6 separate regions of the Homo sapiens genome follow, and all the other regions are linked to region 6. The links are contacts of gene promoters, found by promoter capture Hi-C in blood cells and fetal thymus (Javierre and others, 2016). All regions are on one chromosome and are shown on one strand. Each heading gives the region's core, a stretch centred on a gene start or on the middle of the fragment in contact. The rest is flanking DNA. Distances are from core to core; before and after follow the strand shown. Region 1 overlaps TBC1D1 (TBC1 domain family member 1). Region 2 overlaps RELL1 (RELT like 1). Region 3 overlaps TBC1D1 (TBC1 domain family member 1). Region 4 overlaps TBC1D1 (TBC1 domain family member 1). Region 5 holds the start of LOC124900692. Region 6 holds the start of PGM2 (phosphoglucomutase 2).

Region 1 (4,513 bases), core at 150-2,649, 210 kb before region 6:
TAATTCACATTTAGAAATGACTTGTTTCTTATTTATCTTAAAACAAGTATCTAGAAGTTTCTCCTTGGAAGATGACACTGGTTCTTAGACAATAATTTCTTTAAAAAAAAAAAACAGAGATGGGGGTCTCGCTATATTGACCAAGCTGGTCTCAAACTCCTGGCCTCAAACAATCCTCCCATCTCAGCCTCCCAAAGTGCTAGGATTACAGGCGTGAGCCACCGTGCCTGGCCCTCACAGACAATAATTTCTAATTTGGAGGCTCCACAGTGAATTCTATTGCAGTCATTATATTGCACATCCTTCAACAGATGGGGTAAACTCTAAGCATGAAAGTTTGGATTCAAGTATTCAAGCTTTAAATCCTGATGCTATACTGAAATTCTCAGTTCAGAACTCACCATCCCAGGCTGGCACAATGTATCTACCAGCAGCCTTATTCATAATCAAGCAGCTCAGAAGGAGAATGGAGAAAGAAACTCTTGACATTAATACCACAGAACAAAAAGGAACAAACTACTGATACAAGCAACTGATACATGCAACAACAAACTACTAATACATGCAACAATGTAGCATAACGTTTCTGATGAGTCTCAGAAACGTTATGCTAAGTGGAAGGAGCCAGAACTCAAAGAGTATGATGCCGGCCAGGCGCGGTGGCTCACACCTGTAATCCCAGCACTTTGGAAGGCCGAGGTGGGCAGATCACAAGGTCAGGAGATCGAGACCATCACGGCTAACACGGTGAAACCCCGTCTCTACTAAAAATATAAACAATTAGCTGGGAGTGGTGGCAGGCACCTGTAGTCCCAGCTACTCAGGAGGCTGAGGCAGGAGAATGGCGTGAACTTGGGAGGCGGGGCTTGCAGTGAGCCAAGATAGCGCCACTGCACTCCAGCCTGGGTGACAGAGTGAGACTCTGTCTCAAAAAAAAAAAAAAAAAAAAAAAAAAAAAAAGAGTATGATGCCATTTATAAGAAATTCCAGAACAGGCAAAACTAATCTAAGGTGAAAAAAATCAAAACAGTGGTTACCTGGGGGAAGGGGTAGTGAGGACTGACTAGAAGACGAATATAGGGCTACTTTCTGGTAGGATGAAATTTTTTTTTTTTTCCCGAGAGGGAGTCTCTCTCTGTCGCCCAGGCTGGAGTGCAGTGGTGCGACCTCGGCTCACTGCAACCTCCGCTTCCCGGGTTCATGCCATTCTCCTGCCTCAGCCTCCCTAGTAGCTGGGACTACAGGCACCCGCCACCACACCTGACTAATTTTTGTATTTTTAGTGGAGACGAGCTTTCACTGTGTTAGCCAGGATGGTCTCAATCTCCTGACCTCATGATCCGCCCACCTCAGCCTCCCAAAGTACTGGGATTACAGGCGTGAGCCACTGCGCCCGGCAGGATGAAAATATTCTATATCTTGATAGGGGTTTGAGCTACCTGAATGTAGCAGCAGTGGTCAAAACTCAACAAATGGTACACTTAAGATTTGCATAACCTACCATATGTAAATTTAATCTCCCCAAAATTGGAAGCAAACACTAAATTCTAGTTAATGATATACATGCTAAAGTGTTTAGGGATGAAGGGTACTGATATCACCTAATTTGAAAGGCATGCAAAAATAAGGTGGACTAATAGATAAATATATGATAAAGCAAATTAACAAAGTCTTTAAAACTGTAAAATCTGGATGGTGGGTATATGAGTGCTCATGGTATAATTCTTTCAACTTTTCTATATGTTTGAAATTTTTCATAATAAAATGTCACAAAAAAAGAAAGAAAATCTTATCTACTAGAAAACAGACCCAAGAAAATCAGTAAGTAGTTATATAGCATTAAATTTTGTTAAGCTCCTTAAAAAAACACACAATAATTAAGATAAAGTACTTAGACATCAGACAAAGTGGCTCCACTACTCACTAGTAACTGCTTGACTGCTCTTCCCCATTTCCTCATCTATAAAATGGGTATTTTACCACCTACCTCAAAAAACTTGTAGAATGAATGGAGTCATTTATGTAAGGAATGAGAACTCTATCTGGCACTTGGCAAACATTCAGTAAGTGGCAGCTGATTTCATACTAATTTTTGTACCACCTCTGTGAATACAGGTGGAAACGACAAGTCCATTGACTAAAACGTGACAGCCTCTAACTTAATGTATAAGTCTTGCCCAAACTGAACCCTGTTCTATAAGATCAAAAGACTCATTCAGGGTTTTTTCTATTTCACAACTCCTCTGACAGTTCTCCAGCACTATTCTTTTGGTCTTTGAAAAGCGCATATGGCCTCCCTGCCGACCCTGACACGCACAGCACTGAGAGAAGCGCTCACTGTCCTCTGTCCGCTTCTGAAGTCCTGTGGCCAGAGAAGTTCTTTGTCAAAGCCATGATCCTACCACGGTCTATGTCACATCTTCCCACATTTTCAAAAGCTTTAGAAATTTTTAGGTGCAACAAGAAGGTAATGAAATCCACGTGGCTAAACTGATAGCAGAAAACATGAAAAGGATCTATCAGTGAATCTCAAGGCTGTGCCTAATGGGTCTATAAAGCAGCTGCTGCTCTGAAAAACCCACTCCTCAGAGCCCATGAGAGTGTCCAGCCTGGAGTACACCAACCTCATCAGGGGATTAGGGCAGCTTCTTTATAGACGAAGACATGAGCCGTCTGGTTCATGATGTTTAGAAACCCCTAGTAAAAGTGTTACACAGATGCCAGTTCTGCTTGTAAGGCTCAGTCACTTCTACATTGAACTCTTATGTTTTTTTGGGTAAAAAAAAAACATTAAACACATTTCTCCATTGGATGATCTATGCCCAAATCATAAAAATATTATGCTGGTCCATAAAAATGAGTCTGCAGTTAGGTCAAAACTTTCCATTCACCATAAATGCTCAAAATGTTTAGTAAAAGAAGACTTTCCATCCACCGTAAATGCTTCATTCCCCTTTCTAGCAGTTATAAATTACTTCAAAATTATCAATTTCCTGTTGGAACAAGTCAGACTGACTCAGATAAAAGAAAATCAGAACAGGGAAAAAGCTATCAGTGGCACAAGAGGGGAAAAAGGGAGTGGAAAAGAGAAAAGAAATAGGCTGAAAAATGAACTCCAGAATTAACTGAAAACTTAGACCAACTGGTCCATCCAAAAATGAACAGGAGAGACACAGAACTTGAATGCTATCTTAAGGGTACAGGTTGGGAAGGGAGGAATGGCTACAAACCAAGACCACAAGTCAAAACCCCAAAAAACACAGGTCATATACTCATGTTAGAGTCACTGCTAAAGGACCTCATGGCTGGCCAATGAGATTAGAAACCGTGGCTGACACTGTACACCAGCCCAAGTGTTCAGGGAAGGCACGTGACTGCCAAAGCCACCTAGAAGGTAGAAACCTTATGTGGAGATTTGCTAAGTGTACACCCCATGAAAACTGCACACTTGGTTTAGGGTCCAGACGCAAAGGCTGCCGTAGGACAGGGCACACCACTGAGCACACAAGTGTCTTTGGAACACGTACGTGGGGAGTGTTCAAAAAGAAAAAGGGAACATACTTTTGGGAAACTGAGAAACTTGTACATCCTTCACTGATTTTTCTCTAGATTTCTGGCCAACAGGTAACTTTAGCAAATATAAAATGTGTATGTTTTGAAGCTATTAATGGTTCATTATGAATGGACTCACATGGAGTCCAAAAGACAAAGGAAATGGTCTGTGGTACCATGTAACATAGGGACTCCCAAACCTGAAGATCTTCCAAGGGAGAGATCTGCAGAGAGCCCCAGCTTCTGCCTTGAGACCCCACAAAGAGAAAAGCTAAATAAGGCTGTAGACAGTGGAGGAGGGGAGGGAGACTCTGTATTTCCACCATGCAAAATGGAATTAATCCAAGTTCTAACCTGAATAGCACATAAGTCAGGCTTGCCAACATTGTATCTGATTTGTGACCTAGCATTTATATCACAAAGGACGTTCAGGTACTTTTTGTAATTCCAAAGGCAGCCATGCAATGTCCTTCCAGGTTTACAAAGAAGAAAGGCGAGGTGACAAACCAGCTCCCTGCAAGCCAAGCAGCTCATCTTGGTGGCATCCACTCTTACACTCAATTCTTGCTGCTCTAAGCCAGTCCTCTTATTAGAGCAACTGTTCTGCCTCCACTATGGTGCAGGCAGAAACTTTTCTTATCTTCTCAAGCATACATAGTCTAACACTCCCAAATTTCCCCTCTATGTGCAACAAAGGAAAATAAAACATAGGGAGAAAAAAAGGTATCAGAGTTTCAGAAAATCCTCAAAACGTTGTTTATACAGAGACTTGGCAGAGACTTGGCAACAATTACAAGAGACAAAAATGCCATACCTGCTTCATCTCCCCAATATGGATGTGTTCTTTCTGTTTCTCTTCATATAAACATCTCAGAAAAGAAATAATCAATTCATTCTCTCGCTGCTCATTTCTCGGTCTCAATTTCTTTAAAACAAAAATCAGAAACAGGATTTATTTTTA
Region 2 (4,440 bases), core at 1,799-4,298, 150 kb after region 6:
CAGCCTTCATAGGCATTTTTAAACTCATTGCTCATAACCCTGTGAAATACTTACTTCCAGTAAGGCAACTGAGGCAAGAGAGGTTAAACAACTGGCTGAACATCACATAGGTACTGTGCCAGTCAGCATTCAGAGAAGCAGAACCACTAGGAGGTGTCTGTGTATGTGTGTACCTTTATATGTATCTTTATCTGGGATAACCCAGCCTGCTTGATTCCAAAGTTCATTCCCTTTCCACTGTACCCCACTGCTCTGCAGAGGAAAAATAGAATATGAGTCAACCTCTGCAATCTCGCTGAGATTCTAAGATAGTTTAGAACGTCATAAAATTGTAAGCATGTGGTTATCAGAAGTTGTCAAGTAGAGAAAAGAAGGGCAGATAGCTTCACGGTGGGTAGTGGCAATGCCTTTTTCACTTCCTTCCTAGTAGAAGAATCTCATTAAACTTGTCTCTTAGCAGCAGCATTCGAAACTATATACCACAAGCACCCAAAGGGATGATTTTCCACGTCTTGGCTTATTAATGTCCTTAAGTTCTCTGGTTACTCAACCTTCAGGTTTATTAGTTTCTCTCTCAGACAGTGGGCATAGCCCTCGAGTAAGGAGTGGGTGGAAGAGGTCCTGGGGCTGGTGAGATGAAAAATGCATTGTCCTTGGGCTGCAGGCTTCCCTCCAGCATTCTGACTCCTTTTTAGAAACTAAAGATAAGCTTTATTAAATTCTGGGGTCTCTCTTAGCCAGGTAGCTGCGAAGCTGTACATCCACATAATATATAGTGTTTGGAAAGTTTTGAAAAAGCACACCTTGGAGCTTGGGAGTCCATATCTACATTTAATTTTAAAAGGAAATGAAAAATGTGAGAAGTCTCTGTCAATTCCCTGCCCCTACCCCCTCTAAAAATGGAAATGAAATGAATCTATTTGGAAATTTGAAGAGTTGAATTTGAATGTGAGAGACCAAAGCCCCAAGTGAACAAACAACAGATTTTATTGTTTCTTTAAAAATGATTCTTTGGCCCTAATGTTGAAGTTTAATGACTTATTGAAACAATAGAGAAATGATTTAAAGCTGACAAAAAGAATAAATTAAATTGTCATTGGTATAAACTATTAGGTTGAGTGGTTCCTAATAATTTCGGACACTTAAGTGGTTGTAAAGATTTGGTGTGCTGCTGAAAGCGGGTATATTAATAATTCTGGTGTGATTTATAAAAACTAAAATCAGAATTTGGTGTTAGTACACTGTAGACACTTTACTCTTTTAGGAAAAAGGAATTCAATTTTTATTATTACCTGGTTTGTGTGCAGGCGGTAGTCTAAATACCTAGATCATTTCATTCTTACAATTAATTTCCTGTCAGTTATATACATAATTTTATTCCTGTGTTTGTAGATGAGGAAATTGAGCCTCAGAGAAGTTGAAAAAGTCACTCATGTGTAAGCTGGATTTTGTCATGGAGTCCATTGAGTCAGATCTGTTTGATTTTGAAGTCCATGCTTATTATTACTAAACTATTTTTTTGAGTAAGAAAATTCTTTTTATTCTAACATATTTGTAAAGAATCAGTAAGTAACAAGGTCATGGGATGCTATGGTGGAAAGAGCACCAAGCCTTAAGTCAGGGCCTTGGACTTGAAGTCAAAAATCAGAAGGAAGCCGGGTGCAGTGGCTCACGCCTGTAATCGCAGCACTTTGGGAGGCCAAGGCGGGCAGATCACGAGGTCAGGAGTTCAAGACCAGCCTGGCCAATATGGTGAAACCCCGTCTCTACTAGAAATACAAAAATTAGTTGGATGTGGTGGCACATGCCTGTAGTCCCAGCTACTGGGGAGGCTGAGGCAGGAGAATCACTCGAACCTGGGAAGCGGAGGTTGCAGTGAGCTGAGATCGTGCCACTGCACTCCAGCCTGGGTGACAGAGCAAGACTCCGTCTCAAAAAAAAAAAAAAAAAAAAAAAAAAAACAGAAGGAGACCCTGATGCCTGCAGCATATGGTTCTGTCCACCTCCATTTCCTCACCTGTAAAATGGGCATTGTGCCAACACCTGTCTCTCTGTCCTACTGGCTGCTCTGTCTTACTGAGCTCTTGTCTCTGAAAGTTCTGGGTAAATGGCAAAGTGGCATATATCTTTTATCCTGTGTATCTTTAAAAAATATAGTATTTTTTCTCCAGAGTGCGCATTAGGCTTGATTTATATTACGTCATTTAAACTGTCAAATAAATGTGGACCACATATATTAAACAGTTTTTATTCTGGAGGTGGTGATAGCTTTGCAATGATAGGGATTTTTAAAAAGCCCAGAGTGACACCTCAGATTAGAGTTTGCTACTGTTGCATAGGAGTTAAGTAGCCAAGCCATCTTTTCTCATTTCCCTTTAGCTAAAATACAGTGCACTAGGTATTTTTGGAAAATTTCCCCAAAGATCTAAAGTTTGTGGGAGGAAGGAGCGAGAATCACCCTTGATTCCATTACTCCAAGGCACTAGCCATTGTTAGCATATTTCATTCTGGTCTTCTCTAATTGCATTTTTTTTTTTTTTTTTTTTTTGAGATGGAGTGTTGCTCTGTCACCCAGGCTGGAGTGCAGCGGCGCGATCTCAGCTCACTGCAAGCTCCGCCTCCAGGGTTCATGCCATTCTCCCGCCTCAGCCTCCCAAGTAGCTGGGACTACAGGCGCCCACCACCATGCTTGGCTAATTTTGTTTTTATATTTTTAGTAGAGACAGTGTTTCACCGTGTTAGCCAGGATGGTCTCGATCTTCTGACCTCATGATCCGCCCGCCTCGGCCTCCCAAAGTGCTGGGATTACAGGCATGAGCCTGTAATTGCGTTCTTAACTCGCATAGGTTCTTTAATTGCATTTTTAACTCGGATAGGTTCATAATGCAATATAACTTTGTATCATGACTTTTTCAGTTTATGTTACACAGAAATGTTTCTCTATTTCCCTATACACCCAAAAAAGGGCTGCCTACTGTTCCACTATATGGATTCACTGTATTTTACTTCTATGTATCTATTTGGGAGATTTCAGTTGCTCATTATTTTTAAGTGAGTTTTAAAACTCATTTCAATGAATGCCTCTGTGCATGAAACTTTGCCTAAATATCAGAGGACTTCCACAGAAAATGGGTTCCTGAAAAGGCACTTTGAGGGTCAAAGATGTTCACATTTTTGAGGCAATTGATGACATCAGTGTTGATCTGAAGGTCATCCCAGGTTACATTCTCACAGCAATAGCCAAAAAGACTCAATTTCATATTCTTGTTATTTTCTCTGAAAAACATATTCGCTAATTTGTTAGGCAAAAATTGGTACCTTGATTGTTTTAATTTGTACATGGTTGGTAACTATCAGGTTGATTTTGTTTTCTTCTAGTTTTTGAGCCATTTGCAAGTGTGTAATCCTTTATGGATAATTCTGAAATGTAAAAAGCTCTGAAAACAAGTTTTTCTTGTAGGCTTTTGATACCCTCTGTAGGTTGTAAAACTTAACTTGAACTAATGTGAGGTTTTTAATTTTTTTTTTGAGATGGAGTCTCTCTCTGTCTCCCAGGCTGGAGTGCAGTGGTGTGATCTCGGGTCACTGCAAGCTCCGCCTCCCGGGTTCAAGAGATTCTCCTGCCTCAGCCTCCCGAGTAGCTGGGATTACAGGCATGCACCACGCCCAGCTAATTTTTGTATTTTTAGTAGAGATGGGGTTTCACCATATTGGCCAGGCTGATCTGGAACTCTTGACCTCATGTGATCCACCCACCTCGGCCTCCCAAAGTGCTGGGATTATAGGGATGCACCACCACACCCAGCCTAATGTGTGGTTCTATGGTATATATTATTCTATCTTGACTATTTGCATGTTCTGCTGAATAATATTAATGAATTTGATTTGAGTGTTACAGGTTGTGCGCTAAATGCATTGCATTACCTTCCTAAAATCACAAGGTTTGAACTTTGAAGCACATCTGACTTCCAGGTTTTCAGATAAGGGATTATGGTCCTGCATTTTCGCTTCTGTGACTCATTTATTTGTGTCTGTTAGGAGGCAAATATAAAACTGCTCAAAGTAGCAAAATTTCCAATGGGGAAAATAAGTCCTCAAATGAGTGACACTTCAGAAAAAGAAGTACAACTTTGGTACTCTAGTGTGAAATCTAAGAAAATAAGGGTACCCCCAAAAAACTAAGATTTTGTTTATTCCAAGTGACTTTATGAATGGGTGCCAATTAGAATGGAAACTTGTCGGCTAGATGGAGAGTTTGGGCCAAATTTCTCCTCTGCTTTCTTTTGCCAGTTACTAACACAGTTCTCTTTGTAAGAGAAACTGAATCTACCCAAGGGATTTTCTGGAGGATGGATGGGTAGAGGGGCCGGACATCTTACCTTGGGGATCCTTTTGCCAAACCTGTTGAACTCAGAGGACCTGGTTTTCCATTCCCACCTG
Region 3 (4,762 bases), core at 1,752-4,251, 190 kb before region 6:
TAATTTTTGTATTTAGTAGAAACGTATTTGAGATGTATTTGTATTTCGTAGAGACAGGGTTTCACCATGTTGCCCAGGCTGGTCTCGAACTCTTGGCCTGAAGTGATCTGCCCACCTCAGCCTCCCCAAGCGCTGGAATTACAGGTGTATAATAAACATTCTACAAACATGAGAAATGATCAAATTTTTGTTTTCTTTTCACAATAGCATGGGTTGTTTAAATCATGTGACCTCCACAAGTCACAAAAAAATTTTTAGAAATCCTCCCATAAACAGAACAAAAACACAAAATCAAGAACAGAGTGGTGAAAACTCCTTCACCTTCCAGATGCCTTCAGATAAACATATCACCACTCCCTTTCACTGTCACCTGGTTCTGTCCTCTCCCCTGGCCCCTCCCTGCAGTCACAGAGACAGAAACTCTCACTTCCTGCCTCAGGTGGACTCCCCACTCTTGTTCAAGAGGAACCCCCACCATTCCATTCGGATTCATTCGGCCCCTCTGGCCCCTTGGGCTCTGAATTCACTCAAACCCTCCAATTCTGAAAAAGACAAAGTTAGCTGCAATCCCCAGGTCTTTCTCCAGTATGGCCTTCTCCTGGAAATGGTTGGTGGCAGGTAACAGGGCTTTACCGCCTGGGGTGAATCATGGGCTCACTATACACTAGTTTATTCCTAGACATCTCTAATCCTCAATTTACTTATCTGCAATATGTGCAAAATAAATAGTCCCTTTTCCTCCCACAAATGTGATGAGGATTAAATAGATAACAGAAAGCACCTAATACACTTCCTGGCAGATCTTATTCAATACACGTTAGCTACAAATCATAACATTTATTACAGTTTCTCCCTAAGCCAGGTTTCTAGAAATACTGGTCAATACTAATAGTCACCGTTTCTTTGATTTCTTCCCATTTGCTCCTCAACTGCAACCTGTTTTCTGCTACCTCCTCTCCATCCAAACTGTACTAGCAGACGTTACTAATGACCTTGTAATGGAGAAACTGGTACAAGTTCCTTAGTTCTTATCTTTCTAGATATCTCTGCAGTGCCCAGTATGACTGACCACTCACACAACCTTGATAAACACTAGGCAACCGGTTTGGTAACCTGTTTCCCTAACTCCTCCTCCATCCTCAGAATACCTTGGAGGGAGGTGGCAGAAGGGGGTTCTGGGTTCTTATCTTTGTATCACCAGCATCCGGCACAATTCCTGACATACAGAAGACACCCACTGCACACTGAGAGTCCACCTACAATCCCTGTGACTAATACAAGCCTCTGTTAGGCAGAATCTTCCAACAGATGAGTATCATCTAAAGTTCTCCTGGGACCTTTAACTCCCACTGTGTTCATGCTGGAAAGGGTCCCCTACTCACCCTCTATCCTCTCACAGAGCTTGTGCAGGCTTTGCAGGGGGCAGCCCTCACACAGCTGGGCTGGCGCCTTAGCTGTCTGCTGCACTGCGGCCACCGTGAAGGCCTGTTTCAGGGTCATCATAATTTCATCAACCTAATCAAAGAGAAGAGAAGTTGTAGTCACCAAAAAGTCAATTTGAAATTAGCTGGGCTGAGATGTCAGAAAATCTTTGGAAAAGATTTTTTAAGCTTTAAGAGTTTTCTGTACTACTCTTCACAGGTTGACAGATAATAATTGGAATAACAGCTAGGATTACAGTCTGAAAATACTACAAGTATGCTCAAAGCTCTTAAAGCAGGTAAGGTAAATGATATGGTTTGGCTGTGTCCCCACCCAAATCTCATCTTGAATTGTAGCTCCCATAATTCCCATATGTCATGGGAGGGACCCAGTGGGAGGTAATTGAATCATGGGAGTGGGTCTTTCCTGTGCTGTTCTATGATAGTGAATAAATCTCACGAGATCTGATGGTTTTATAAAGGGCAGTTCCCCTGCACACGCTGCCCTGCCTGCTGCCATGTAAGATGTGCCTTTGCTCCTCCTTCACCTTCCGCCATGATTGTGAGGCCTCGCTGGCCATGTGGAACTATGAGTCCATTAAACCTCTTTCCTTTATAAATTACCCAGTGTCAGGTATGTCTTTATTAGCAGTGTGAGAACAGACTGATACAGTAAAAACTAAAAATACAAACTACTGAGAAAAAAGGCAAACTCCTTTGATCAGATGTCTAAAATGACATTGTAAAATGCTAGACCAGAAGGTGACACTAAACAAGTTCTTCAGAAATAAAAAATATAAAATGCACAGCCAATTAAGCTTCAGATGTGTATTAGCTGCTTACTAAATAGTCATAAGTAAATAACTAAAGACAAATAATGATATGTCAATGACCATCTGGTTTTCCCTAAGGACAGAAAAATCAGTGGAGCTAAAATTCCTTGTAAAGAAGGTTCCAAGGTAAGAATTGCTTGTCCTCTCTCACCAGAGCCTCATTTGTGCACTGAAACACGTAACAGACAAAATGAAAGCCGCCACCTCCGGAAGACTCCCGACAGATAAACCCAAAGTGGTCCACGTGTCTGATGCCCTGCCAAAGGGAGAGAACGAGATGTTCAGTTGTATCCAGAAGACGCACCATCCTCAGAAATGCACCTCAAGATTTATACAGCACAATTTATTTTACTTTTTATTATCTTTTTGAGATGGAATTTTACTCTTGTTGCCCAGGCTGGAGTACAATGGCACAATCTCAGCTCACTGCAACCTCTGTCTCCAGGGTTCAAGTGATTCTCGTGCCTCAGCCTCCTGAGTAGCTGGGATTACAGGCATGCACCACCACACCCGGCTAATTTTTGTATTTTTAGTAGATATGGTGTTTCACCATGTTGGTCTCGAACTCCTGACCTCAGGTAATCCACTCACCTCAGCCTCCCAAAGTGCTGGGATTACAGGCGTGAACCACTGCGCCTGGCCTACACAGCACAATTTTAAAAAACACTAGGAAATTACTATTTTCTCTGATATTTTAAAATTTCAAAAAGTCTAAAAACATCTCAAATAAAGTTGGTTTACTAGAATGTTCCTTTGATTACTCCCACAACAATAAGAAAAATAAGATCTGAAAATTCAAGTTTTAGTGCTCATTTTAGTATTTGTTTGTTGTTTTGTTTGAGACATAGGTATTAAAGAATAAAAACCACTCAAAAAATCAAAGGCAGACCAGAGATTCATGAAGAAACACAACTAAGCACATACACACCCAAAGGTTAAAAAAATATTTAAAATATATTTGTATTCCTAAAATAAGTAGGTAAATACTGAAGTGAACTGGAATAAAGAAAGAGTCAAAAATTACATGCACACAGAGTAGAGGAGCTTTTAAACATATTAGGCCAAGGCTCTACCATGGTATCATAAGAGCTATTTTTAATAAATATTAATATGTAAATGTGTTTTAAAATCATCAGCTATCAGAGGCACCTTAATACAGATAAAACGTCTGCCATAAATATTAATACATCAATGTATTCTGAAAGCATCATCATGCAGAGATGTGAGTGCTGATAGCTTAATGTTCAGGTAATCATATAAACTTGTAAACTACACTCTTTAGGAAATTATAAAGCTATCACACAAAAATGTAAACATTTAACATTCATATTTCAACAGAAATAGCAGCAAATCAGGATTAAAAACTCTATGGGTAATCTCACTTTCAGGCCAAATATTTTCCAATAAATGAGCAATCATTAACATGCTTTGCCATCTCAATTAATCTTCTCCAGTAGCAAGTTAAGCATAAGGCTACCACTTAAGGAAATATGATTTAGCAAAGCTTTTTCTTTGTAAATGGTTCCCTATTCAATCTGTAAAGAACATTCTTTATTTTCACATTTTGCAGAAAAGTCCCTTTTGAATATTTAAGTAGATCACATTATAAATCAACACTGACATTTTCATATTTTATCAATTATGAAAATGAAAAATCCAGAGTTTAAAAAAAAAAGCAAATATAACCTTAAGTGATCTCATATTTGTTAGGAAGATCCTGAGTAAAACTGGCACAGCTAATCTTAATTGATAGATTCTTCCAAAATCCCTCTATGAAACACCTGGAAGATTATCAAGAAAAAAGTTTTCAAGTAGACACTGTACTCTGAGATAAGCACTATCTATATTTGAAGGGAGAATACTGACAATTGGTACCTAAAAAAGTTATAAATTTTTGTAAAGTAGAAATAGATCTAATAAAAAGATATATTTGTGTGAAATGTGTAAATATATATGTCAAAGATAAGCACTATCTATATTTGAAGGGAGAATACTGACAATTGGTACCCAAAAAAGTTACAAATTTTTGTAAAGTAGAAATATATCTAATAAAAAGATATATTTGTGTGAAATGTGTAAATATATATGTGTAATATGCACAAAGACACACACATGTGCATCTGGAAGTCATGACTGTGGATTATTACTACCAATAACTGAGAAAATTAAAAGTAGATCTATTTTGTCCATTACTGTTGCTAAGAGCAAATTTCTTAATTTCAAAATTATATTCATAATTTACCTTAACATACCAAAGCAAAGAAGAAAAGCGAAACACAAATCAAGTACAGTACTTAGAAAACATACACCTTGTAACCTTTAGCATTTGTTACATGATAGATATTATAGAAATTCATTTAAAAATTCCATTGCAATTGAATAAAAAAACCCATCTCCATTTACCTGAGAGCAAAAGGATATCTCCTTAAAATTTTTCTCCAATGCTATTTTTTTGGTGTCAGGACTGATGAGGTAAACTTCAGACTGGCCAATCTTAAAAGACAAACA
Region 4 (4,373 bases), core at 139-2,638, 130 kb before region 6:
ACTAAAGCAGCACCCCTGAAGTTTCTCTAAACTGCAAAATGCTCAAATGTTTCATCCCGAGTTATCCCTTTTGCCAACTCTGATCTACTGGTGGCAGACAATCCAGCATGCAGTGGTGGGGAGAGCCGAGAGGCCCTCTCTGAGCAACGTGACTACTAATGGTGCTTGCTTGGGCAGGAATACTGGACTATGGCAATGACTATATACCTTTGCCAACCCAACCCCAATCTAGTCCAGGCTATTGATTCACAGCAGCAAAGGGTCACTTCTGTTTCTAAGGCCTAGAGATAAGTTGAGGGCACTTTTGCAGTGAGCCATTTCAATTCAATGATAAATATTCTTGTTGTCTAATTCATTCTATGAATCTTTGACCCAGTGACATATGTGCGTACGTATTTGAGCCCATATGCAAAAATATACAGTTGAGTCTTGAACAATACAGGATTGAGTCGCATGGATCCACTTGTTCTCAGATTTTCTTCTGCGGCTGCCACCTCTGAGACTGCAAGACCAACCCCTCCTCTTCCTCCTCCTCCTCAGCCTATTCAACGTGAAGACAATGAGGGTGAAGACCTGTATGATGATCTATTTCTACTTAATGAATAATGCAATATGTTCTCTTCCTTATGATTTTTCTTAATAACATTTTCTTCAGCTTACTTTATTGTGAGAATACAGGATATAGTGCATAAAACATACGAAATATATGTTAGTCGACTGTGTTATTGGTGAGGTCAACGGAAGACTATCGGTTAAGCTTTTTGGGAGTCAAAGGTTATAGGTGGATTTTCGACTATGCAGGTGATTGGCGCCCCTAACCCTCACATTGTTCAAGGGTCAACTGTGCCTGTTTATTTGCATAAGGCCACCTCAAATACAAAGGGCCATTCAAAGGTATCATTAGAAGTCTTGCTCTTAACCTGACACAGCTAGCTAGAAAGTGACAGAGCCATGACTTGGACCTGGTATATCAACTGATTGATGTAACCTCTATATGGAGCTTGTAAATTCAAGTGCCACCCAGAGTCAGTGAGGGAATGTAAATATATGATGTGCCAGTGGAAGACAATGGGGAACGGGGAGACTGGTGGGGTAGAGTGTGTGTGCCAATCTGCAGGCATTCCAATTGAATTGTTTTTCTTCAAACACTATGGTAGGCAACTTTTACAATAAAGTTTGCAGGCCACCTGTCTGTAATCCTGTCTCATTATACCATTAGCAGGAATTATTATTAAACAACTTCTTTCAACTCTTCCGACACATTCATTTTTTATTAACAGCCTTCTAATAGTACTCTGAATTGGGGCAGAAATAATTAAAGTAAAAGATGTCATATATGTGTCCTAAAGAAGGGACAAATAAAGGAGGTCTAGAGGTGTGAAAGCAAATCTAATCCAGGAACACTTTCTGGAGGAGGTGGCATTTGAGCTAGGAGAGATGGAATGCTTAAGTAAGAGAAGGAGCTAGGAGAGACGGAATGCTTAAGTAAAAGAAGAGGAAATCTCCCCAGGCAAAAGAAACAACAATGAACAAAACAGAGGAAAGCATGGCTACGAGGAAAAATTAACTGTCCCATTTTGCTGGAAAATAGAGTACACCATCTTGGAACAAAAATAAAAAATATGAAGAATCATCTGGGACCAGATATGGTCAAGGTTCTTGATTGCCAAGCTAAGGAATCTGGTGTTTATTGGTTAGAGATGAAAATGGCCTGCTCAGAGAATGGGTTTTCTAGGAGATGAATCTGCTTTGTTGATCTTACAGACTCTTTCTTAATATGAAGCATACTTTTTTCCTAGACAACTTCAAATCTGAAAAATGTGTTACTATTCTTAGCATATGTTTTTGAAAGTAAACTTGGTCGCCATAAACGTATATGAGAAAAGGGGCATAAAAACTGGCAGCAAATCCAGTAACTGTAGCCATCTGTGTTTCTGTTGTTCTAAGCAGAGATCAACAAAAATAGCATTTTAAAAAACATATAAGTATGGTTGAAGTAATATTTTCCAGTGAAGCTTTCCACAAGTGGCTGCTGATAATTTTATCTGGTATTTTAAAATAAAATACACTACCTACAGGACACCATGAAAAACTATCATCTGTTGCATTATAAATGGAAGAATAAAAGGAAGGAAAGACAGAAGGGAGGGAGGAAAATGATATGTAGTTTGTCAGGAAATGTAAATCACATGTCAGAATTGACCTTTTAAAAAGTAATAATGAGCAATAAGAAAAACATCAAACAATCTGTTCTGAACTTTTATGAAAAAGTGGTGTAGGATAAAAATGGAGTTTGGAGTCAGAAAGACTGTTTTGGAATCTCAACTCTCTTCTCTTTCTATATTATTTATTTATTTGTTTTTATTTTTATTATTTTAAGAGATAGGACCTTGCTCTGTTGCTGAGGCTGTGATCATAGCTCACTGTAGCCTCGAACTCTTAGGCTCAGGCAATCCTCCTGCCTCAGCCTCCTGAGTACCTAGGACTACAGGCACGCACCCCCATGCCCAGGTAATCTTTTTATGTTTTGTAGAGAGGGGTCCTGCTGTGTTGCTCAGGCTGGTCTTGAACTCCTGGGCTCAAGATATCCTCCTGCCTTGGCTTCCCAAAGTGTTAGGATTACAGGCATGAGCCACTGTGCCCAGCAATACATATTCCTGTCAACAGATAAATTCCTTGTCTCTAAAAAGTAGTGTTATTTATTACTTTAATGATTGTGAAGAATGAAAACATGTGTCATATCAGGTATCATACATTTGTCTCTTTCCTTCTTTTGGAAAGGAAGAGATACGTCTGCCACATTGTGTAACTGTGGCCATGAGTATTATACAAACTCATGAGGGGCTTATGTTCTCCCATCTCACGTAGGGAGTCTAAATGTTTATGTGGTCAGCTTGATCCTTCCTGTAAGGGGAGGGAGGCCATGGTGCAGATAATCCCAAAGACCGGATAGGAGTAATTCTTTAAGTTTCACCGTGGCATGCATCAGTGGCTTCTTTGGGGGAAATTCATTTCTACACTCCCTTCTTTTTTTTTTTTTTCTTTTGAGACGGAGTCTTGCTCTGTTGCCCAGGCTGGAGTGCGGTGGCGCGATCTCTGCTCACTTCATCTTCCACCTCCTGGGTTCAAGTGATTCTCGTGCCTCAGCCTCCCAAGTAACTGGGACTACAGGTGTGCTCCACCACACCTGGCTAATTTTTAGTAGACATGGGGTTTCACTGTGTTGGCCAGGCTGGTCTTGAACTCCTGACCTCAAGTGATCTGCCCATCTCGGTCTCCCAAAGTGCTGGGATTAGAGGTGTGAGCCACTGTGCCCGGCTACACTCCACTTTTCTTAAGTTAATACTAACATTAGTTGGCGTCCCTGAGCATATCACATGAGGTCAAGGGGAAAAGACACAGAATGGAAGTACAGGGAAAAGCCATTTGGTCATTTTAAATGTGTTAAAGCACAATGAGGATAGTCTGCTGGAAGTTTATTCACTTCACATTCAATATGTATTGAGCACCTACTGGGGGCCAGGTACTGTCTAGTCTGTGGCAACACATCTGTGAGCAAAACAAACCAAAACCCCTGCCCTCGGGAAACTTACATCCTAGTGAAAAGAGAGTCAGACAACGAATGAAACAAATTTTTAAATGGCATAGTGTATTAGAAGTTCATTAAGCCGGGTGTGGTGGCTCATGCCTGTAGTCTCAACACTTTGGGAGGCTGAGATGGGTGATCGCTTGAAGTCCAGGAGTTCGAGACCAGCCTGGGCAACACAGGGAGAACCCCCGCTCCCATCTCTACAAAAAATACAAAAATTAGCCGGTTGTCATTCCAGCTACTCAGAAGGCTGAGGTGGGAGGATGGCTTGAACCTGGGAGGCAGATGTTGCAGTAAGCCTAGATCACGACACCGGTACTCCAGCCTGAGTGACAGAGACGTTGTTTCAAAAAAAAAAAAAAAGTTTATTTGAAGCAGATTATATGTATTTTGGGGGAAGATATTTATTTTTTATTTTTTAAATAGAGACAAGGTCTCACTATGTTGCCCAGGCTGGTCTCAAACTCCTAGACTCAAGCAATCCTCCCACCTTAGCCTCCCAAAGTGCTGGAATTACAGGCGTGAGACACCACGGCCAGCCCTGACAATATGTATTATAATCTATATGCATAATAGAAAAATGAAAAGTGTAAACTTTGAGGTAAAGCTCTCTTAAACACTGCTTATTCTTGGACCACAGGTGCTCATAACAAAGGGCAGAAATTTTTGTAAAAAAGAGTCACAGTGGAAACTGCACATTGTAACACATTGTAATTTATATACAGTTGACCCTCTTTACCCATGGGTTTCGCATCTGTGGATTCAACCAACCGTGGATTGTAAA
Region 5 (4,145 bases), core at 399-2,898, 230 kb before region 6:
GTATTTTCTTCTCTTTTTACACTATATTTAGTTAGAGACACACTCCTTACTCACTTAACACCCTTCTCTCCAGATTTTTTTTTTAGCCCACCTATAAAAATTAGAATCTCCAAATTACAGAAAGTTTCTATTTTTCCTTCACTAGTAACATTATCACTATTGCAAACACCATGGTTTTTGTATTACTGTTGGTGTGTTTTACTAGTATCTTCCAAGTGGGATGACATGGATGGAACTGTATAAACATCCCTGCCTCGCTTTTTCACCTGGAAGAGAGGTTGTAAGATTTCCTGTCCAATTGAAGTTTGCACTGCCAGAATATAAATGTAAAACAGGCAGTCATTTTGAGCACCTGAAATAGGTGTTAAAAGGTACTGTTAAGATCTATTTCTCACAAGCACACTTGTGTGTCTTTCATGCCAAAGTCAGAGTGGGAATGCAGTGAGTCCAGCGGCTGCAGGCTCAGCTGCCCATGGCTCAGCCGCCCAGGCAAATCAGGAACAGAGTCTTGTGCACGCTTGGCTGGAGACAGTTTGCACAAAGCAGGGACCTCTGGGGAAAGAAACCTCAGAGCTCTAAACTGTCTTTGGATGTGATGTCTCTCAGCTGGAAGGAACATATGGAGACCTGCTAGTGTGGGTCAAAGTGGTCACAGACCACAGTGGAGGGCTCTGGCATCGTGCATCCTAAGGATGGGGAACAGACAGTGGCAGAGGACAAAGATGCCTGATTTGTCCTCTCAGACAGAAATCAGTTGCCATTCAAGCTCCAGTCCCACTGCTAACTATTAGGGAGGCGGTCAGGATGGAAGGGGGCGGAGGAGATTGACTGAAGGCAAGTACGTACATTAAAATGCCCAGAAACATGTTTTCCATTCAGTGTTGGTGTCTGGCCAACAGGGAGACATGCAGGTACACTGAGAGTCCACGCCCAACACAGATGCCTATAGGGAGCTTCCTGTGGGAAGAGGGAAGCACAGGCAGGACCACCTCCAGAGGGTCCCGCAGCGTCCTGCATCTCTGGCTGCAGCCCAGTGCTGTGCACAGTTCAGAGAATGAGCTTTGGAGCTCAGACCCGCGAGCTCAGGTCCTGCCTCTGGCTCCCACTAACTCCCTGGTTTGGGGAAAGTGATTTAAGCCACTCCCAGCCTCCACTCACCCACCTGTAAAATGGGCTTCATAAAAATGTCGATGTTCTTAAGATTGTCTAATTAAAGGAAATAATTCATGTAAAGCACTTAGCAGAGTATAAAAAGAGCATAATATGTGGCTATTATTATATTAATTCTTCCTTAATAATCCTTTTATTCTCGTTTTTCTTTTGCATACACAGAACACTTAAACAATGTTATTCAGAAATTCAGGCGGCTTGGTTCTGAGAAGAGATAAGAAATAATATGTGCCTATAGAGACAGAGGAGGCATGAGGAGGGAGTTGAGAAATCACTAATCACTAAGTTTGCAAGAATCTGAGCCACTGACTTGCCTGCCTTTAGCAGCCATCAAGCCTGCAGGAGCTGCCGGAGATGGGTGACAAAGATGAACCTGTGAACATGTGTTACAGGGAGAGAGCTGCTATGGGAGAGTCAGGATACAAGGGAAGGGGAGGGAGGGAGCCATGGGGATACTGACGAAGAGCATTCCAGGCAGAGGGAATAGCCTGTGCCAGGGCTCGGGTGGGGCATGAGGGTGAGTTCATGGCTGGCATGGCACAAGCCAGAGGGGCTAGTGGGAACCTGCATCAGAGGAAAGGTGGACATGGATGGTGATCTCTGCCTAGCGCTGACAGGGGTCTCTAGACATCTTCCTGCAGGAGATTGGGTGGTGGGGCACAGGAGGGAGAGGAGCTGACTTGTTTGGGGTCTGATGAATCAGGGGTGATTACGGCCTAGGAACAGGAGGAGCAGCATCTATGCCAGGCCCTGTTCTGTTTGGTACTTTTAGCCATTACTTAAAGGCACAAAGGCCATGTTTGTCCACTTGACAGGCAAATATATACAACTTACTGGTCACCAGACTCAAGACTCAAAACAATCGCAAAAGGACTGCTCAAAACTGATGAATACTTTATAGGTACAAACTATGCGAGGGAAAAAAACTTCTCAAGTATAGACATGACTCCCCCACCCCGCGAGACAAGGTCTCACTCTGTTGCCCAGGCTGGAGTGCAGGGGTGTGATCACAGCTCACTGTAAACTCAAACTCCTGGGCTCAAGTAATCCTCCTGCCTCAGTCTCCCAAGTAGCTAGGACTACAGCTTCACAACACCACGCTCAGCTAATTTTTATTTTTTTGTAGAGACAGGGTCTCACTATGTTGCCAAGGGTGGCCTCGAACTCCTGGCCTCCAGGGATCCTCCTGCCTTGGCCTCCCAAAGCACTGAGCTTACAGGCATGGTCAACTGTGCCAAGCCAGGAAACCAGTCCAAATTTAAATAATGGTTCATATCCCAAAGGACAAGATAGAATAAGAGCCAAGAATGTTTGAGTTAATCACTTAAAGCAGAAACAGATTATGAAGATCAATCTGCATTAACAGAGCAGTGGCAGGTCAACGGAAGGAGCAACACACTGCCAGAGCCAGAGGCCAAGTGAACACCAAGTTCAACTCAGGACTCCAGGAGGGGCAGAGGCTCTTCGGAGGACAGGACTCGGACCAGGGGTTCCCAAACAGTGACGAGGGCAATTCCCCTGGAGAAGAGAGCTAAAGGAGGCAGCAGCTTCCATGGTCCTCTGTCATCTGAAGGGCAGGAAACAGATGCAAACACATTTCCGTGTGGCTTCAGAGACCAGAGAAGAAGCCAGGAATCAGAGGACAGGGAGGCAGGATGCGGCTCAGTCTGTGAATGCTCGTTTGAAAACTTGGAACTGTTCTATGATGGAGCAAGCAGTCATCTGTGGCCCCTAACGCATCCTGGCCACTGCACAAAGCATTTCCGAGCAGAAATTTCCAAGCGACCATGCCCTGTGAGGTATGGCCACCGCAACACCGAGGCACTCTTTATTAAACACCGAAACTTGGGTTCTGGCACCCCTTTCAGACATGAATCAGCTTCGTTCCTCCTCCAGGGCCTCCCTCTGGTGGCTCTGGTTCCCACTGCTCCACTCCACACCCTCTAACAGGGTGCTACAGGACCTGGGAGGAAGAGCCCTTCTTTGCGGTAAGCAGACCTCTCCACGGGGCAGGGGAAGAGAGATGTGGCCATCTGGCTCACACTGGCAGGAAGAGAAATCAAACCCTGGCTAGGCTCAGCAGCTCCACCGAGGGGCCACCCACGGCAGGAATACTTTATAGGTACAAACTACTTGAGGGAAAAAAGGTGCTGGTGAGTGGCAGCTCCATGGTGCCCCCACATAGAAAGGCTGGGGCAAAAGAAGCAAGGGGCCAGGCTCACCCGAAGGACTTCCACAGCATGGGAGGTGACATTACCCTGGAAACATTCGCATCACTGATTTTCTTTCCAGTACTATGAATTTTGAATGCTTTAAAAAAAATGTATCAGTAATGATATCATGCTGCCTTGTCTCTATCAGTGTGGCAACAGGCATAATTAATCCCAGGTTATAGGTGGTAACTTTAGACAGTTTATTCTAGTTCACAGCTCCTAAGGGGAAAAGCTGGGATTTGAAAGCAGACTCCGAAGCCCACGCTTTGGTTACAGCGGGTAGCTCGTCAGACATGAGGACGGCAGGAGAGGGCCCTTTCCAGATATGCACCAGCAATGTCAGGCGACCATCAGGTGTTGGTCAGGCAGTTGTCAACTGTTTCTCTAAAGTGATCGTTGGTCACAGCGGGCACCAAGGAAGGGCGGGCTCCCAGTAGATAGAAAACACCTAAAACTGGGGAGCTGCAGCTTCCCAATAAGATCTCGGGAGCTGGGCGAGTGGGCTCAAGCATGCGCATTAAGAGGCAACATGGCGGAATTTACCTGGTGCATGACGTTCCTCTAGGAATGCTAGACTGGACAGGGAAGAACGCCTCAAGTGAGCACGCCTACAACTCCAGTAAACACCCTGCGCACGCTCCCCCACAACCCCCGTGTGCTAGCACGCCAATGCACATGCGGACAGCCCACCCCAAGGGAAGAATCAGAGAAGAAGGAACGCAAGACCCCGGAAGTATGGCAGCATATAAAACCCCAGGTCAA
Region 6 (4,239 bases), core at 1,446-3,945:
ATATTGTAACATCTCCAAGAAGTAGACAAATAACAGAAACCCAATTTTATAGATGGGGAAGCCTCAGAGATTGGGTGACTTGCTTAAATTGCAAGATAAACATTAATCTAGTGCCTTTTCTATAACATTAACTGCTTCAAATAGACGCTAACATGATTCATTTAAGTTCATTATACATTGCCCTATTTTTTTTTTGTATGGTAGTTGCAGAAAATGTTATGGTTGGAGAAAAATAATGACAATCACATTAGTTTCATATGAGACTTTTAAGTTATGAATTCAGGAAAACAACAGAGGAAGGACTTTATATTCCTGTTTTACAGTCATTATCCATTTAGATGAGCACTCACGCAGGACGTGGCCATTTAATTAAACTTTGAAATACTACTGCAATAAAACCTTGGCTTTCTGGAATTAAGCCCACATTTCCAGATTGTGGCAGATTCAATGGGAATCAAGTAAACCCCATCTTTTTTGGTGAAAAACAGCAGATGCTAATTACAGAACACAGTCTTACCTATCAGATTGTCAGGTGCCCCAAAGAAAGGCTCAGATCAGGTACATAAAAGAGGCTCATAAAAGAGCCTCAATAAATATTAGTGGAGTGAATCAGAAAACATGGACTTCACTGCCACACTCAATATCGAGTGATCCTCCCTTGTTCATAGTGTAGGTCTGGAAAATCTTAATTGGTCTTTGATATCTATGAAAGACTAAGTAGCCTGAGAGAAACAAAGGAGACAGACAGGTAAGAATGACAAGTCAAGAGTACAGCAGGATCAGAATCAGCCCTGGCAGTGAGCAAAACTGACAGCAGAGAAAAGAGCAGGGATGAAGGCACGGTGGAAAGACAGAGGGCACCTGCCAGGGCGCCTTGCCAGTCGCCGGGGGTAGTCTGACTAGAGGGCTGCAATGCTTTTAGCTGGTGGGAGGTTCACTGGAGAATGAATGGGCTTCTTCTCAGGTGCCAGTCTCAAAGCAAAGAAGAAATTAACAGAGGATAGAACATGAGAAGTGATTAAAAAAAAAAAAGGACATCTCATCTCTACCCAGAGAAATACAATTTTTCTATACACAGATGCAACACTGTGTAGAAATTAGATTGTTTTCTTCTTCTTCTTAGAGAAAGTGCATTATGAACTCTGACTTCAAAAGAATTCTGTACTCTGCAAGCTACAAGTTATCAGAAATGGAAACATTTTTCTTCCCTTGTGAATCACAAGGTTATCTTCCCAGGAAAAGAAAAACGCCCCCAAGGAGTTGCCAATAGCATCCTGGAAATGGGATTTGCTGACATTTTATTTGTAGGGGCCAGAGAATGGTAAATAAAGACAAAGACCTGACCCCTACTGACCTTGTAATCTTCTTTGTTCATTCAAGTATTTCAGTGACCTACTATGTGTCATGCACTATGCCTATGCCAGGCACTACAAACCAAGGTAGTGAGAATAGAGAGGCCTGGCCACATAATTTATGGAGGTCCAGTGCACAATGAAAGTGGGTGACCTCTTGTTTTACCAGTAAGACTTTCAAGACAGGACAGCAGGACATTAAAACAACAGTGGGCCCTTCAAGGAGCGCGAGTCCTGTGAGACTGCAGGGGTCTCTCGCCCCTGAAGTCGGCCCTGGAGACAGACATTAAACAAACCTACAAACAAGTGTTTTTGGAGTTTTTTGTTTTTACCATTTGTAGTAAGAGCTATAAAGGAAAATAACAGACTGTTTAGAGTGAATATTAGGGATAAATAATTTAACGCTTCGGAGCCAAGGAAGGACTGACTCTCTACGTAAGCCACATTTAAGTTCAGGCACAAAATATGAGTCACAACGGGAGAAACAAGTTCAGCAGGAGAGCAGCGAGGGACATTCCGAGAAAACCTAACAGCAAGCAGAACAGGTCGAAAGGGCGAGACGCAAGTTTATAGAGAGGAGAGGGAGTGATGTCCAGAGCTGGGTTCCTGATTCTAAGAAACGGAATGAAGAGAGAGAAAACCGTGCTGTGTCCCAGGTGTGCCTCCCTGGCAGTCAAAGTTCTAAGGGGGACTCCTGAAGCCAGGCGGGCCCACCCGGGAGGACAACCCACGTTTGTAACCAAGCCCTCGGGATGGGAGGACCGGACCAGAACGCTGCTCTGCAAAGGTCTCAGCGGCCAAAGGAATACGCGGGACGGAGCGATTCTGGGTCCATGGGGATGCACAGCCGACTACCGACGACGAGCCAGCGGTCTGAGTGACAGTAAGGCGTGCGCCCCTCAACTAGACAGCGTCCAGGGTCTGGCCGCGCTTACACCACCCTGGCTCGCTCCTCTACTCCGAACTTGCAGTCCGGCCGGCCGGATGGCTGGTTTCGTCCGGGGACAAGCCTTCCCGGCCTAACTCTGAACGTGCCGCATGCCGGCCAGGTCGAAGGAAGCCTAGCAGCGGCCGTACGCTCCTGGGTCTTCCCGGGGGAGAAGCGGGATGCACTGGGCGGGAAGGCAGCTCAGGCAGAGCAAGCAGCGCCGCGCCTGGAGAGGGCAGAGCACCCGGCCCCGCTCCAGGCGCTCCCCGCCTGCTGGTGCCCCTCACCTTGTCCCAGCGCAGCCACTGGGCGGTCTCCTGGTCCAGCCGGGCGTCCTCGCCTAGACCGCTGCCTTCTGGAGCCGCCATCGCTGAGCTTGTGCTACCGCTGCAGAGGGAAGCAGGCGGTGAGATCTGCCTTCCGGCCCGGCCCCAAGACGTGGAGGCGGAGGCGGGGGCGGGGAGAGCCGCGGCGGAGCCAGTCGGTCCGGGGGAAAGTGACGCGCGCCGCGGCGGGCACGCCTCCTTGCCGTTTGCGGGTGCGCTGCAGGGGGTGGGAGTGAGCGAGGAGGAATTGCGGGGCTAGGGTGGGTTGCTGGAACCTGGCACGTGTGAGAAGGGTTTGCCATCGTCTCTGATGCATCCAGGCTACAGCCAGCCGTGAGTTCCTGCTGCGCGCCAGGCACATGTCAGATGCTGGGATACCAGGAAGTGCACCCAGATAGGGGCCTGAAGACTATGTAGAAACTCAGAGGGTCAAGAACAGCCAGAAAAAAATCTTGAAAAAGAAAAGCAAAGTAGGAAGACCAGTGGAACATAAGATAGAGACCAGAAACAAAAATACACGTGTATGGACAATTTATTTCAGAGGCGGGGCTGCAGAGCACAGGAAGGAACTATTTTTGGTTAATGGTGCTCGGTCAAAGGGATATCCACGTAGGGAAAAGAAAAAAGGGAACTTGGCCCCCTACCTCCCATCACACACAGCTCTGAACTCCAGATCAATTGTATCTCTAAGTGCGAAAGGTAGTGTAGCAGGAGGAGCCGCAGACAAAACTCCTCAGACACCGGATTAAAGAAGGAAGAGGTTTTTATTCGGCCGGGAGCGTCGGCAGACTCGCGTCTTAAGAGCCGAGCTCCCTGAAAAAGAAATTCCTAGCCATTTTAAGGGCTTACAACGCTAAGGGGTCTGTCTACGTGAAAGGGTCATGATAGATCAAGTAAGCGTGAGGAACGTGACTGGGGGCTACATACATCAGCTAACAGAACAAGAAGTTTTACAGTGCTTTCTCATACGATGTCTGGAATTTACGGATAACGCCAGTAGTTTTGGTCAGGGGTTAATATTATTATTATTATTTTAACCACCAGGGCCAGGTGGTGGCGCCAAGGTCGTCTAGCTATTTATCTTACTTCTGTTTTTTTCCAACTTTTTGCTTTCTCTCTTTTCTCCTGTCTTATAAACTAGGGAAAAGGGGAGGTGGGGGAGAAGCTGGGAAGGACAGCAGAAATGGTGGTCTCTTTCCATAGTAGCGTGAAACTTAGGGAAACTAACATAGGAGCACATCTTCCTGACGCTGGTATCACCAAGCCATAAAGAAGATGCATACCCATAAGCATAAAAAAGCACGGGCAAGAATATTTCTAGCAGCATTATTTGTAAAAGCCTCAAACTGGAAACAACCCAGATGACCATCGACAATACAATGGATAAATACTTGGTAGTATATCCATACCAATTCATATAAATAAATCATGGCACATTGATAGAGCAATGCAGGTGAACTACTGTTATACACAACATCATGAATGAATCTCACAAACACTGAGTGACAGAGTTCAAACACCCACCCCCATACCCCGTCACCCCAAAATACTGCATCATTCATCTGTAGTCCCAGCTATTTCGTGGTGGGGGAGCTGGAGGGAGTCCTGAGGAGGGAGGATCGCTTGAGCCTGG

What was found. The method cuts DNA at HindIII sites, captures the fragments that hold promoters and counts their contacts. A CHiCAGO score of 5 or more calls a contact.
Region 1: a fragment that was not itself captured here is called in contact with the fragment with the promoter of PGM2 in region 6 in 12 of 17 cell types (M0 macrophages, M2 macrophages, M1 macrophages and 9 more); the score reaches 13.7 in M0 macrophages.
Region 2: a contact is called between a fragment that was not itself captured here and the fragment with the promoter of PGM2 in region 6, in 1 of 17 cell types (neutrophils). The highest score is 6.9, in neutrophils.
Region 3: a contact is called between a fragment that was not itself captured here and the fragment with the promoter of PGM2 in region 6, in 13 of 17 cell types (M2 macrophages, M1 macrophages, M0 macrophages and 10 more). The highest score is 12.0, in M2 macrophages.
Region 4: a contact is called between a fragment that was not itself captured here and the fragment with the promoter of PGM2 in region 6, in 1 of 17 cell types (naive B cells). The highest score is 5.8, in naive B cells.
Region 5: a contact is called between a fragment that was not itself captured here and the fragment with the promoter of PGM2 in region 6, in 7 of 17 cell types (M1 macrophages, M2 macrophages, naive B cells and 4 more). The highest score is 8.7, in M1 macrophages.

What each region holds. Positions count from the first base shown.
Region 1 is chr4:38,035,552-38,040,064 of GRCh38, reverse strand. It overlaps TBC1D1 (TBC1 domain family member 1), which reads right to left. Exons shown (of 22, transcript NM_001396959.1): 8 at 4,367-4,477. Among named protein-coding and RNA genes, the nearest start is that of PTTG2, 77 kb to the right of the region's middle. The HindIII fragment of the contact is 2,082 bases long and covers 359-2,440 here.
Region 2 is chr4:37,679,040-37,683,479 of GRCh38, reverse strand. All of the region lies in intron 1 of RELL1 (RELT like 1), which reads left to right. Among named protein-coding and RNA genes, the nearest start is that of RELL1, 5.1 kb to the left of the region's middle. RefSeq lists an enhancer at 657-706. The HindIII fragment of the contact is 4,673 bases long and covers 712-4,440 here.
Region 3 is chr4:38,018,339-38,023,100 of GRCh38, reverse strand. It overlaps TBC1D1 (TBC1 domain family member 1), which reads right to left. Exons shown (of 22, transcript NM_001396959.1): 4 at 4,658-4,747; 5 at 2,406-2,510; 6 at 1,383-1,515. Among named protein-coding and RNA genes, the nearest start is that of PTTG2, 60 kb to the right of the region's middle. RefSeq lists an enhancer at 1,540-2,739. The HindIII fragment of the contact is 1,519 bases long and covers 2,242-3,760 here.
Region 4 is chr4:37,955,612-37,959,984 of GRCh38, reverse strand. All of the region lies in intron 2 of TBC1D1 (TBC1 domain family member 1), which reads right to left. Among named protein-coding and RNA genes, the nearest start is that of PTTG2, 2.6 kb to the left of the region's middle. The HindIII fragment of the contact is 1,258 bases long and covers 760-2,017 here.
Region 5 is chr4:38,054,793-38,058,937 of GRCh38, reverse strand. All of the region lies in intron 14 of TBC1D1 (TBC1 domain family member 1), which reads right to left. It overlaps LOC124900692, which reads left to right and starts at 2,789. Exons shown (of 2, transcript XM_047416508.1): 1 at 2,789-3,158; 2 at 3,949-4,145. The coding sequence starts at 2,972. RefSeq lists enhancers at 1,189-1,358, 3,421-4,145. The HindIII fragment of the contact is 8,507 bases long and covers 1-4,145 here.
Region 6 is chr4:37,825,142-37,829,380 of GRCh38, reverse strand. It overlaps PGM2 (phosphoglucomutase 2), which reads right to left and starts at 2,695. Exons shown (of 14, transcript NM_018290.4): 1 at 2,568-2,695. The coding sequence starts at 2,648. RefSeq lists enhancers at 2,023-2,522, 2,523-3,024, 4,057-4,226 and a silencer at 2,513-2,812. The HindIII fragment of the contact is 6,567 bases long and covers 1-4,239 here.